2 separate regions of the Homo sapiens genome follow, and region 1 is linked to region 2. The links are contacts of gene promoters, found by promoter capture Hi-C in human tissues and cell types (Jung and others, 2019). All regions are on one chromosome and are shown on one strand. The core of a region is centred on a gene start or on the middle of the fragment in contact, and the rest is flanking DNA. Distances in the headings are between cores, read along the strand shown. Region 1 overlaps SMC1B (structural maintenance of chromosomes 1B). Region 2 holds the start of PHF21B (PHD finger protein 21B).

Region 1 (5,514 bases), core at 1,692-4,191, 390 kb before region 2:
ATTTGAAGAAGTAAATGGAAAGTGGATGTTTCTTATTAGTGATGTTTCTCTGTGTCTTCATGTTTTCTAATATGTATACATGTCCTTGGTTTTGTTAGTGGAAAGGAGTGGCAGCAGTGGAAGTCAGACTATAATAATCACAATATACTGAACTGCAAAATTTAAACATTTTAAGGACAGTTAGAACGAAACAACTTCCTAATTGTTTTTTACAACATCCTAGTGGATAGCCTGTTACTTTGAATACTTCCAATATTGATTAGGAGCTCCTCTTGAGGTAGCCTGTTCCTTTATTTCTTTAATAGCACAAATGTTAAGGAAATTATTATTTTTCACATATAATTTAGCACTGTAAGAGTCCTGTTTTATCGGTAGAAAAACTACTTCCTGTAGTAGGAATTTTTCCTGGAGTCATTGAATTTAAAGTTACTAGCACCTTATAAGTCATATCACACTCTTCTTTCAGTTTACAAAGGAGGAAGCTGATGCCAGAAATACTGATTGAGTTGTGAAACTCACAGGTCCAGACAAAAGGGACCCAGGCTAATGCATGCCACTTCTTTGTTCTCATCATCATACCACTGAGCGCAAGAACACAAAATCATTTGCTGGTGTATTGGGTTATTTAAAAAGTATATTCAGAAACCCTCGCCAAATTATGCTACTTTTGGCAAGAACATTATGTCCTAATAAATAAACATTCATTAGTTAATTTGTTGGTATAGTAGTTGAGTTTATGAAAGGCCAACTTAAATACACTCCCTTTTAACTGCTGTTGAATTATACTCTTTTATAGGCAGAACGTTACCAGAGTCTCCTTGAAGAACTGAAAATGAACAAGATACAACTGCAGCTTTTTCAACTATACCATAATGAGAAAAAGATTCATCTCCTGAACACCAAGTTAGAGCATGTGAATAGGGATTTGAGTGTCAAAAGAGAGTCTTTGTCTCATCATGAAAACATAGTTAAAGCCAGGAAAAAGGAACATGGAATGCTAACTAGACAACTACAACAAACAGAAAAAGAATTAAAGTGAGTTTTTAAAAGTAGATATTAACAGTTGGGTTATATGTAGCTTGATAGAGGGAATAATATAAGTGACACTTTGAAAATTGATTTTAAAAATAAGCTTTTTACTTTGGAATACTTTTAGATATACAGAAAAATTATAAAGATAGTATAGGCCAGGTGTGGTGGCTCATGCCTGTAATCCCAGCACTTTGGGAGGCTGAGGCAGGTGGATCACGAGGTAAGGAGATCGAGACCATCCTGGCTAACACGGTGAAACCCCGTCTCTACTAAAAATACAAAAAATTAGCTGGGCATGGTGGCAGGCACCTGTAGTCCCACCTACTCGGGAGGCTGAGGCAGGAGAATGGCATGAACCTGGGAGGTGGAGCTTGCAGTGAGCCGAGATCACGCCACTACACTCCAGCCTGGGCAACAGCGTGAGACTCCATCTCAAAAAAAAAAAAGGTGGTGTAGAATGGTCCTGAAGTGGTGGTGTTTGGGGTAATACCCGAGGTTCATTGCCTCACAGCAAGGAAATCAAGGATGCAGACACACAAGGAGTGAGGTTAAGAGTGGGTTTAATAGGTGAAAGAAAGAGAAAAGCTTTCTCATGCAGAGAGAGGGGCTCCCAATTGGGTCTTCTGGTCCACAGTGAAGTACAGGCGGTTTTATAGATGAGCTTGAGGAGGCGGTGTCTGATTTAGGGCATGAAGGGTTGTTCAGATCAGGTATTCCATTTGCATAGCACGTGAAGAACCGCTTAGGACTAGATGTGCCATTTGCATAGTGCACAAAGAAGCTGGCCATCCCACCCTAATTTTTTATTATGCAGATTCTGTACCTGGCTGGCGCCATGTTTGCCAGCTTTTCTACTGTACACGTGGTGACAAAGAAAAGGGAAGATGGAGCCTTCATGTTGAACATAGCTGGCTTCTGAGTACCCCTTTTCTATTGGCTCAGCTGCCGGCATTCACTCGTGTAAGCTTCCAGCTTGCTTATGTACCCCATTTGTAGCCTAATTTTTCAGGCTCCTCTTTGTTAGAAAAGAAATGATTTTGGGGCTGCTTTTCGTTAAAAGGGAAGCTCTGCTGAGGACTCTCTTAACCTTCACTATCTGCCTAAATAATTTATTTTTAGCCCCTGTATCAGTCCCATATTCCCAACACTCAGTTTCTCCTATTATTAATATCTTACATTATTATGATACATTGTCAGAATTAATAAACTAATATTGATACATTAACTAAAGTCCATACTTTATACATATTTTCTCAGCTTTTGCCTAATGTCCTTTTTATGATCCAGAATACCATATTACATTTAGTTATATGTCTCCTTAGGCACCTTTTAGCTGTGACAGTTCTTGTTTTTGATGAACTTGACAATTTTGAGGAATATTGGTCAGTTTTTTTATAGAACATCTTTCAATCCGGATTTGTCTGATGGTTTTCACATAATTAGACTGAAGATACAGACTGTGGGGAGGAAGCCCACAGAAGTAAAATGTCCTTCTCATTATATTCTATCAGAGTGTCAGTGTATTATATATGTTACATGACATTTATCATGTACTATATCATGTGTCATATCAACATGGTATCACTGTTGATGTTGACCTTGATCACCTGACTGAAGTAGTTTTTGTCATGTTTCTCCTCTGTGAGGTTATTTTTTCTCCCTTTTCATACTATAATCTTTGAGAGGAAGTCACTATGCTTAGCCCACACTTAAGGAGTAAGGAGAGTTATGTTTTACCTTGAGGGCAAAGTATCTACATGATTTTTTTGGAATTCTGCACAGATTTGTCTCTACTTAATTATTTTAAAATTAAATTAATTGTTATTTGTTTACATCAGTATAGATTTATGGATATTTTACATTTAGAGTTATAATCCAGTATTACATTGTTGATTTTGTTGCTTAGATTGTTCCTGCTGTGGCCACTGAGAACTCTTTGAGTTGGCTCCTGTGTCCCTTTGAAATATTCTCATTACTGTGATTTTTTTTTGGAGCTCTTCCTTACTTTCTAGAAGATAAGTATCTTCTACTGTCATCTTGTATAAGCCAGTCCAAGCATCAGCTTGCCCCAGCTTGTATGAGCCTGCCCCAGGCTCTCCAAGGAACCCTGGTTCCTTTTATCGGAGAACAGTATTAGGAACCAACATCTAGGTGGTAGGTGTGTTCGTTGCTACTGGAGTGTCCTTGCTTCTAGGCTTTCTCAGCTGTTGGAACTAGGAAATACCTGTGTATACTATTTATACACATAGCTATAAATATTTTCATATGTGACCATCTATATTAAGCTAAACATGAGTTCATATTGATGTCTCCCAATTCTAAGCCATTACCACATTAATCATTCTAGCCTTCTCTTGCTTATCTGTAACCTCCCACTTCAACAATGGGAAATCTGGCTTCTACCATCTGCCATCCATTTGCTTAATTGTGCATTTCCAGTAATCACGTGTAATAGCGTCAGAATTGTTAACCCGTACCCCCATGGAAAGCATCTTTGTAACTACAGTATAGTACTTATATACAATTCTTTTGCTTTTAGTCTTACAGACTCCACTCATTTCTAGAATTAGGTCAGCATGTTTTCCTTCCACCCCTTCAGTAAGGCTGTTTCTACATTTATAATAAAGTTAGATTTTTTATTGCATTCTACATTCCATATAGGATCCCTTAGCCTCCTGAGTGATTCTTTTTTAATTTGCTTACATTAAGGTTCATCCTTGGTGCTGTAAAGTAATACAGGTTTTGGCAAATTCATAGTGTCAAGTGTCTACCACTACAGTACCACTCTCAAAAGTGACCGTGTGCTTTATTCATCCCTCCCCCTGACCTTGCTCAACCTTTGGCAACCATTGATCTGCTTACAGTCTCTGAAAGTTGATTTTTAGGATTTCTTTTTTAAAGTGGTTTGATCAAAACAACTTCTTCCCTTTATATATTAAAGAAATGAAATTTTCTTTAAAGCAAACATTTTTCCCTTTTCAGATCGGTTGAAACCCTTTTAAATCAGAAGAGGCCTCAGTACATTAAAGCCAAAGAAAACACTTCTCACCACCTTAAGAAATTAGATGTGGCTAAGAAATCAATAAAGGACAGCGAAAAACAATGTTCTAAACAGGAAGATGATATAAAAGCCCTGGAGACAGAGCTGGCTGATTTAGATGCTGCATGGAGAAGTTTTGAAAAGCAGATTGAGGAAGAAATTTTACATAAAAAGCGAGACATTGAACTGGAAGCCAGTCAGGTAAAAAAGGACAACTTAGGGGAAATCTTGTGTTTCTATTATTTCAGCTGCTTTGAATTAGAAAAAAATTTAAAAGATGACCTCTCTGATATTTTAAGAGATTATCCTCAATGTAAATTGTGGGGATTTAAATTTTTCAGCCTGTATACAGAACTAGATTTATTTATTTTTAATTTTAATTTTGTAGAGAGAGGGTCTCGCTCTGTCACTCAGGCTGGAGTGCAGTGGCATAATCATGATGCAGGATTTTTTTTTGTTTGTTTTTGAGATGGAGTTTCGCTCTTATTGCCCAGGTTGGAGTGTAATGGTGTGGTCTTGGCTCACTGCAACCTCCGCCTTATGGGTTCAAGCGATTCTCCTGCCTCAGCCTCCTGAGTAGCTGGGATTACAGGCATGCGCCACCATGCCTGGCTGATTTTGTATTTTTAGTAGAGACGGGGTTTCTCCATGTTGGTCAGGCTGGTCTCAAACTCCCGACCTCTGGTGATCCACCTGCCTTGGCCTCCCAAAGTACGGGGATTACAGGCGTGAGCCACCATGCCCGGCCGATGCAGGATTTTTCTCAGTCACTTTGTCAGCCAGAGACCCTCAGTTGGTGACGCCCTTGCTCAGGCCTTGCTTGGTCCCACGTTCACTGCAGGAGACACCCTGTCAGCCTGCCAGGCCGCACCTGGCCTGCACTCTGGCGCGAATCCCACAGCTGCCACGACTGCTCACTCAGCCCCCAGCAGAAGAGGGTGTGTGAGCGAGCAAGTTTAGTTTCCAGCCAGCTGTTCCAAGTACCGGCACAGAAGCAGGCTTCATGTGGTGCTTGGAGCTGGACCAGGTGTGTTGCAAGCCACTTCCACAGTGGGCTCTGGCGCCCAGATGAGGGGAACACAGTGGCACCCAGGCAAGGGTGCTCCTGACCCCAAAGCCCCAGAGGGGGTGTTACAGTGTGCTAATCAGCTCTTTAGTCCTGTCTGCAGCCTGAAGGATGCACGTCCGAAGGCATGTTAACAGCTCTGTCAGCCTCTTGACCCACTCTGGCCCTCAGCTCTGGGGCTTGCTCGGCCCCACCACTGCTTCCTGTCATGTGGGGCAGCTGCCCTCTGCCAGCAGAGGGCAGAGGGCCACAGTGTTTCAGCCTTCTGTGTACCCACGTTCAGTGGGTCCTCAGTTCTTGTCCTGTGTCTAAGAAGAATGAAGCTACACTGGCAATCGAAGAGTGAGGAAGGCAAAGAAGAATTTTATTGAGCTAT
Region 2 (5,671 bases), core at 1,023-3,522:
CAGCATCAGCCTGAGACTGTGTGGACTGAAGATGACCTGAATATCCTCTGTTGATTTAATTACCCTACGTGGCTGATAAAATTACTCTGAATTTTTACCAAGAAGCCAGTGGCATTTACAGAGATTACAGTAGGAATCCTCTTTCTGCACACTTTCTCTCTGGCTCTCCAAGCATGGGTCTCCAGGGCAGTCCACTTTCCTGGGCTGGTGTTCAGCCCAGCAAAAGCACTAAGGAGGGAGGCCACCACCCTGACCCGGGCTAAACCCAGAAGTGGGAGGAGTGGGTACCTATTGGGGCACCCTGAGTCAGCCTCTTTGTTTTGCATTTGAGGAACCTTGCTTCTCCCTGCTTGGGGCAAAACCAAAGGAATCACGACCACTTCAAACACGGGCTAGTTTTGCATCCACATTAACCAGTGTTGGCTTATGGTGTGACTGTGGTCCCAGCTACTTGGGAGGCTGAGGTGGGAGGATTGCTTGAGCAGGTGAGGTGGAGGCAGTGGTGAGCTATGATTTCACCACTGCACATTAGCCTGCACGACAGAATGAGACTCACACAGTAAGTAACTATGCAAAAAACAGAGGGGCATGTATATGATCCTTACCGTAACCCACATATTTAACCTACGTAATTAAATCAACAGAGGTTATTCAGGTCATCTTCGGCCCACACAGATTCAGGCAGATGCTGGCCGGAGGGTAGTGGCTCCTCCTGTTGAGTCTTTTCTGTTTGTTTGTTTGTTTTTTCTGAGACAGAGTCTTGCTCTGTTGCCCAGACTGGAGTGCTGTGGTGCAATCTCGGCTCACTGCAACCTCTGCCTCCTGGGTTGAAGCAACTCTCCTGCCTCAGCCTCCCGAGTAGCTGGGATTACAGGCTTGCGCCACCATGCCTAATTTTTTGTATTTTTAGTCGAGACCATGTTGGGCAGGCTGGTCTCGAACTCCTGACCTCGTGATCTGCCCACTTCGGCCTCCCAAAGTACTGGGATTACAGGTGTGAGCCACCGCCCCCGGCCGGCCTCCTATGGAGTCTTAAAGCGCTGTTTGCAAGTTTCTGTTAACTAATTTGGGTTAAAGTAAGGGTCATCTACATGCCCCTCTGCTTTTTGCATAGTTACTCATATCCTAAGTCTCACTCTGTCGTGCTCTGAAGGCGAGGTGCTGGGTTGTGGGATGAGGGGCCATCTGTGTTTGGGGGTCCCAAACACGTAATTTATTACAAATTCCCTAACAGAGAGCAGAACAACACTGGGGTCCTCACTTGAAAAAAAAAAAAAAAAGAAAAGAAAGAAAAGGGGGAATTCCAATAACTTCTGCCAACAAAAGCAATGTGTGACCTGTTGGCATATGTTGAAAGGGACATTTGCTGATGGTGCTTGCTTGGGTATTTTTTGTGCTGCCGGAGAGGAATCTGAAGTTAAAACGACTTAACAGCTTAAACGTTTACTTTGACATATGATTGCACCCTTTCTCCCCAGCGTGTTTCAAACGTGCCAGTTTGCTGCCAACAGGGCACCCGGCACTCCGACCTGAATGAAGATGGCAGCCCCGAGGTGGTGACAGTGACTCTGGGACATTAACCTCCTGGCTGCGCGGCTGGGGGTTCTGAAACGCGACCTCCGCAGCTGTAATTATAATTGTTTTAGGTCGCATTGACCGGGCCTGTTTACGACTCTTAACAAGAGTCTTAAAATGTCCAGTGACATCTGTTGAGAGTTTAATCGTGTAAAAAAAAATCATTAAAGGAAGAGCCAAGAGATCAATTTTCTTGCTGTTTAAACAACACGGAGGCCATCAGGCGGCGGGGGAATGTGGCGACGCGACTAATTTAATCCCCCAAGTCGCGGCGCTGGTATGGACAGGAGGGGACGGAAGAATTTAAATAAAATATCAGAGGGAGGCGGAGGAGGGGGGAAAGGAGGGAGCCGAGGACCAGGGTGAGGAGAAATGGAAACACGGACTCGCAGCCTCCCAGCGGAAAGTGTCCTGATCCCGGCGTTACACGGCGCAGGGGGTGGGGGCGCCGCGTTCCCCGGGTTGGCCCGGGGACGGAGAGGATGACTCCGCAGTCGTCCTCTCCGAGCGCCCGGCCCGAGCAGTCCCCGGAGCCGGCGACCGTGCGTCCCCGTCCACCGCCACTTTTGTTCTCCGCTCGGGGTGCCGGGCCGCGGCGGGGCGGCAGTGCGCAGGCGCGGGCGGGGCGGGGGCGGGGCGCGGCGGGCTGAGGGTCCCGGCACCGCCCCCCGCCGCCCCGGCCCGCTCCATCCGGGCACTGCCGAATTAGCATCGTGCCGAGGCACAACTTTGCCGAGGCCCAACGAGATCCAGGCGCGCGCGCCGGAGGAAATATAGTCCCTGCCCGCGGGAGGCTCGCGCGGGAGGAGGCGGCGGCGGCGGCGGCTGGGCGGGCGCGCGCGGGGCTGCGCGGGGCTCCCGGCGCCGGGGGGGCCATGCTCCGGGCCGCGCCGGCAGCCCGGGGACCCGGCGCAACTTGCCGGGCAGCCTGAGGAGTTGGGGCAGCCGAGGGCTCGGCGCCGCGGCGCCCGGAAGCCTGTCTTCCCCTTCGCCAGCCCCCTTCCCTTTCGGCCGTGGGGGAGGGGGCTCGTGTCCCCCCCAACCCAGCCCGGAGGCCGCGTCCGCCCGCGCCCGCTCTGGCCCCCGCGGAGCCGCGCAACTTCCCGGGAGCCCGGGCCAAAGTGAGCGCAAAGTGCTGCCCAAGTTGCCGGGATGGAGCTGCAGAGCCGGCCCGAGGCGCTCGCCGTGGAACTCGCGCGCCACCAGGTAGGTGGCCGGGGGCCGGGCCCGGGGCCGGGGAGTGTGTTGCGGGGTGAGGGGGTCGGGGGACCCGAGCCCAGCATCCTCTCTTCCGGGTCTCTGGGTCTTCCAGGCTGGAGCCTGCCCGGGGGCGGGGGGCGAGGGAGTGAGCACACGCGCGGACCCCCTTCTGGGCTCCCCTCCGCCTGCCCCTGGCGCTGTCCTGCACAGTTTGCGGGATCGAGGACGCGTGGGACCCGAGCCTGGAGTCTTCTCTTAAGCGATGTAGGGTCTGCATGACTGGGAGGGTGCCTGGAGGGGGCCCCTTCGTGAGCCGGTCCCGGGGAGGGGAGTGCGAATAGGCCCCCTTCCGGCCTCCCCTCGGGCCCCCGCGCCCCGGGCGAACCTGCCCGGTGTGCAGAAGTAGTTTTGGCGATCGCTGCTGGCGAGCGGCGGCGTGGCGGCCGGAGCCTGAGCGGGGCTCGGCGTGCGCGTGTGTGTGTTGGGGAGATTAGGACGCGACTTGAATATTTATGAGCTTTGCTCGACACGGACTCGCCGTGTTTACTTGGCTCTTTGTTCCTCCCCCCTCCCCCGGCACACACTCACACTCACACTCACTCGCACACGCACCCCGGCCTGCAAACTTGCACGGCTCGGGGCGCGCCGCCGGGTGGCCTCGGCCCCCGCCCCGCCCCGCGAGCTGCCCCGATGAGGCGGCAGCCACAGGTAAGCGGCCCCGCGCGGCACTGCCCGGCCGCCGCGCGTGCAGGACGCGGCCCGGGAAACTTGGGGTGCGCTGCGGCCGGCCCCGCCCGTGGGGCTCCGGGCGGGGGGTGCCGCGGCCCGCGGTGCTGGGGTGCACCTGACCCCGGGTGGCCTGCCTGAGCCCGCTCCTCCGTGTTTCCGCAGAACGGCGACCTCAAGAAGCAGCTCCACGAAAGGCAGCCGCGGATCGCCGCGCTCAGCGACAAACAAGTAAGCGATGGGATCGCGGCCCCCCCTGGGATGGGGCGGGAGGGTGGCTGGGCACTTTGGCGGCGCCCTAAAAAGTGCCAGCCTGGGCGACGCACGCTCAGACTCCCAGAGGGGTCTGTCTCCAGTTCTCAAAGTTCCCCACCCCTCCCCTTTCCTGGAAAGAAAGAGCCGGGTTCTCGGAGGCGGCAGGGAGAGCCGGGCCCTGCGGGGGCCGAAGAGAGGAGCTCACTTAAAAGGCAGCGCGCGGCCCGGCGTCCATTTTGAGGTGGTGGACATGTTTTTGGAACGTGGCGATTTCTCCCGGCTCGGAGTCCCCCGCTTTGCGCTGAGGCGGCCATGGGGGCGGAGGGGGGCGGCCGTGGGGGCCTGGACACCAAACTCGTTGGAAGCGATTTCTGGGTTCCGTGGCAAACCTCGTTTTGAAATCGTTCCTCGAGGCTCCCTCCCCCCCACCACCTTCCACTTCCCTAGCTTCACTTTTTATTCTTGGAACCTGACGCCAGCTCCCGGGGAACAAAAGAAACGCGCCCCCGGGACTCCCCAGTTCTGCTCCAACTTTGGGCTCCGGGCGTTAGGTGTAGTTGGGGACACCTGAGAAGCTCCCACGCGTCGGAGGCGCGACCGCTCCCCCCCCTCCGGGCCCCCTCCGGGGAGGAAAAGTTGTCCATTGTGACTTAGTTGCGCTGAGCTCAGCGCTCGGGGTTTCAGCACCACGAACAGATGCCGCCGCCAGAGCCCGGCCGGCCGCGCGCCCCCGCCCCCTGGCTCCCGCCCCTCCTCCGCTGCCCCTCCCCCGCCGCGCCCCCTCCCCGCACTCGCACACCCGCCCCTTCCCCGCGCTCGCACACCCGCCCCTTCCCCGCGCAGCCCCGAGCCGAGAACTTTGAGCGGCGCAGCCAATGGCGTGCTGGGGGCACCGCTGTGGCGGGCACGGGGGCGGCGGCGCCCCTCCCTCCCTCCGCTGCCCCCTCCCTCCCTCCTTCGCGCCCCGCCCCCGCCCGCGCCGCGCCCCCGGCCATCGATCGCGTTTCCTTCGGAATGCCGGCCGCAGCCGCCAGCGCCAAACTTGGACAGCTCCGGGCCCGCCCCCGCGCGCCCCCGCCCGGGCCTGCCCCCGCGCTCCCACCCCAGCCCGGGCCGCCGGATCGGACGCCCCCTCCCCCGGGGGATTTTCTGGCGTAGGGGAGAGACGTGGACGAGGTTGGGGCGGCTGCCGGTGACCCTGGCGAGAGAGAATTCGGAGGCCGGGCGTTCGTGTCGAGTCTTTAAAGTTAAAAAGTGATGGGAGGGGGCGTGCGCGAGTGGCGGGTTTTGGGGGGGGCCGGGCTTGCTGAAAGGAAGATGGCAGTGCCGCGGCCCGCGCCTGGTCTGGGCCGCCGGGCTGGACCGAAGGCTTGGGACAAATGCGCTAACCCTTTTCAGTTGGTGCCGCGGCCCCCCCGCCCCCGGCCGCGCGCCCCCGTCCGGGAGTGGAAGCTTCCATTCCCGCCGGAGGGGGGCCCGGCGCGCGGCCCCGGCGAAGTCGGGGAGTTGGCGGGGGGAGGGGACCCAGGCCCTGCATTACCATTTTGATTGCTTTGATGCCATTTTTGGAGGGGGAGGGGTCGGAAGACCCTTTTCCGCAGAGCACAAAGCTGTTTAATCACTGCGTAGAATCAAATCAGATACTTTCTTTAAAAAAAAAAAAAAATCTGCCACCAGATCTGGTCCAGTGTGATAGCTGAGGGTTACTAAGCCCTTTTTTCACTGGGTAAAACGGCAAGTTGTTGACTCGTACGCTCCTAGAAGATTTAAAAGAGAGAGAGAAGAAGAAAAAATCCAATAACCTAGGAGCTTTTCTTGGAACAATGTCTCTTTATGTTTCTGCTTGGCAGTAGTTTTACTATTTGGAATGACTCTTCTGAGCTTGGGTTTGATCATTTCTTCTGTATTGTAGCAA

Evidence for each region. Contacts are between HindIII fragments. The study calls those that stand out against the background at their distance.
Region 1: a fragment that was not itself captured here is called in contact with the fragment with the promoter of PHF21B in region 2 in 2 of the 25 tissues and cell types used here (H1 embryonic stem cells and spleen).

The regions. Positions count from the first base shown.
Region 1 is chr22:45,397,854-45,403,367 of GRCh38, reverse strand. It overlaps SMC1B (structural maintenance of chromosomes 1B), which reads left to right. Exons shown (of 25, transcript NM_148674.5): 5 at 797-1,035; 6 at 4,015-4,273. Among named protein-coding and RNA genes, the nearest start is that of SMC1B, 13 kb to the left of the region's middle. The HindIII fragment of the contact is 7,606 bases long and covers 1-5,514 here.
Region 2 is chr22:45,006,606-45,012,276 of GRCh38, reverse strand. It overlaps PHF21B (PHD finger protein 21B), which reads left to right and starts at 2,272. Exons shown (of 13, transcript NM_138415.5): 1 at 2,272-2,781; 2 at 3,667-3,732. The coding sequence starts at 2,728. RefSeq lists an enhancer at 3,292-3,893. The HindIII fragment of the contact is 18,572 bases long and covers 1-5,671 here.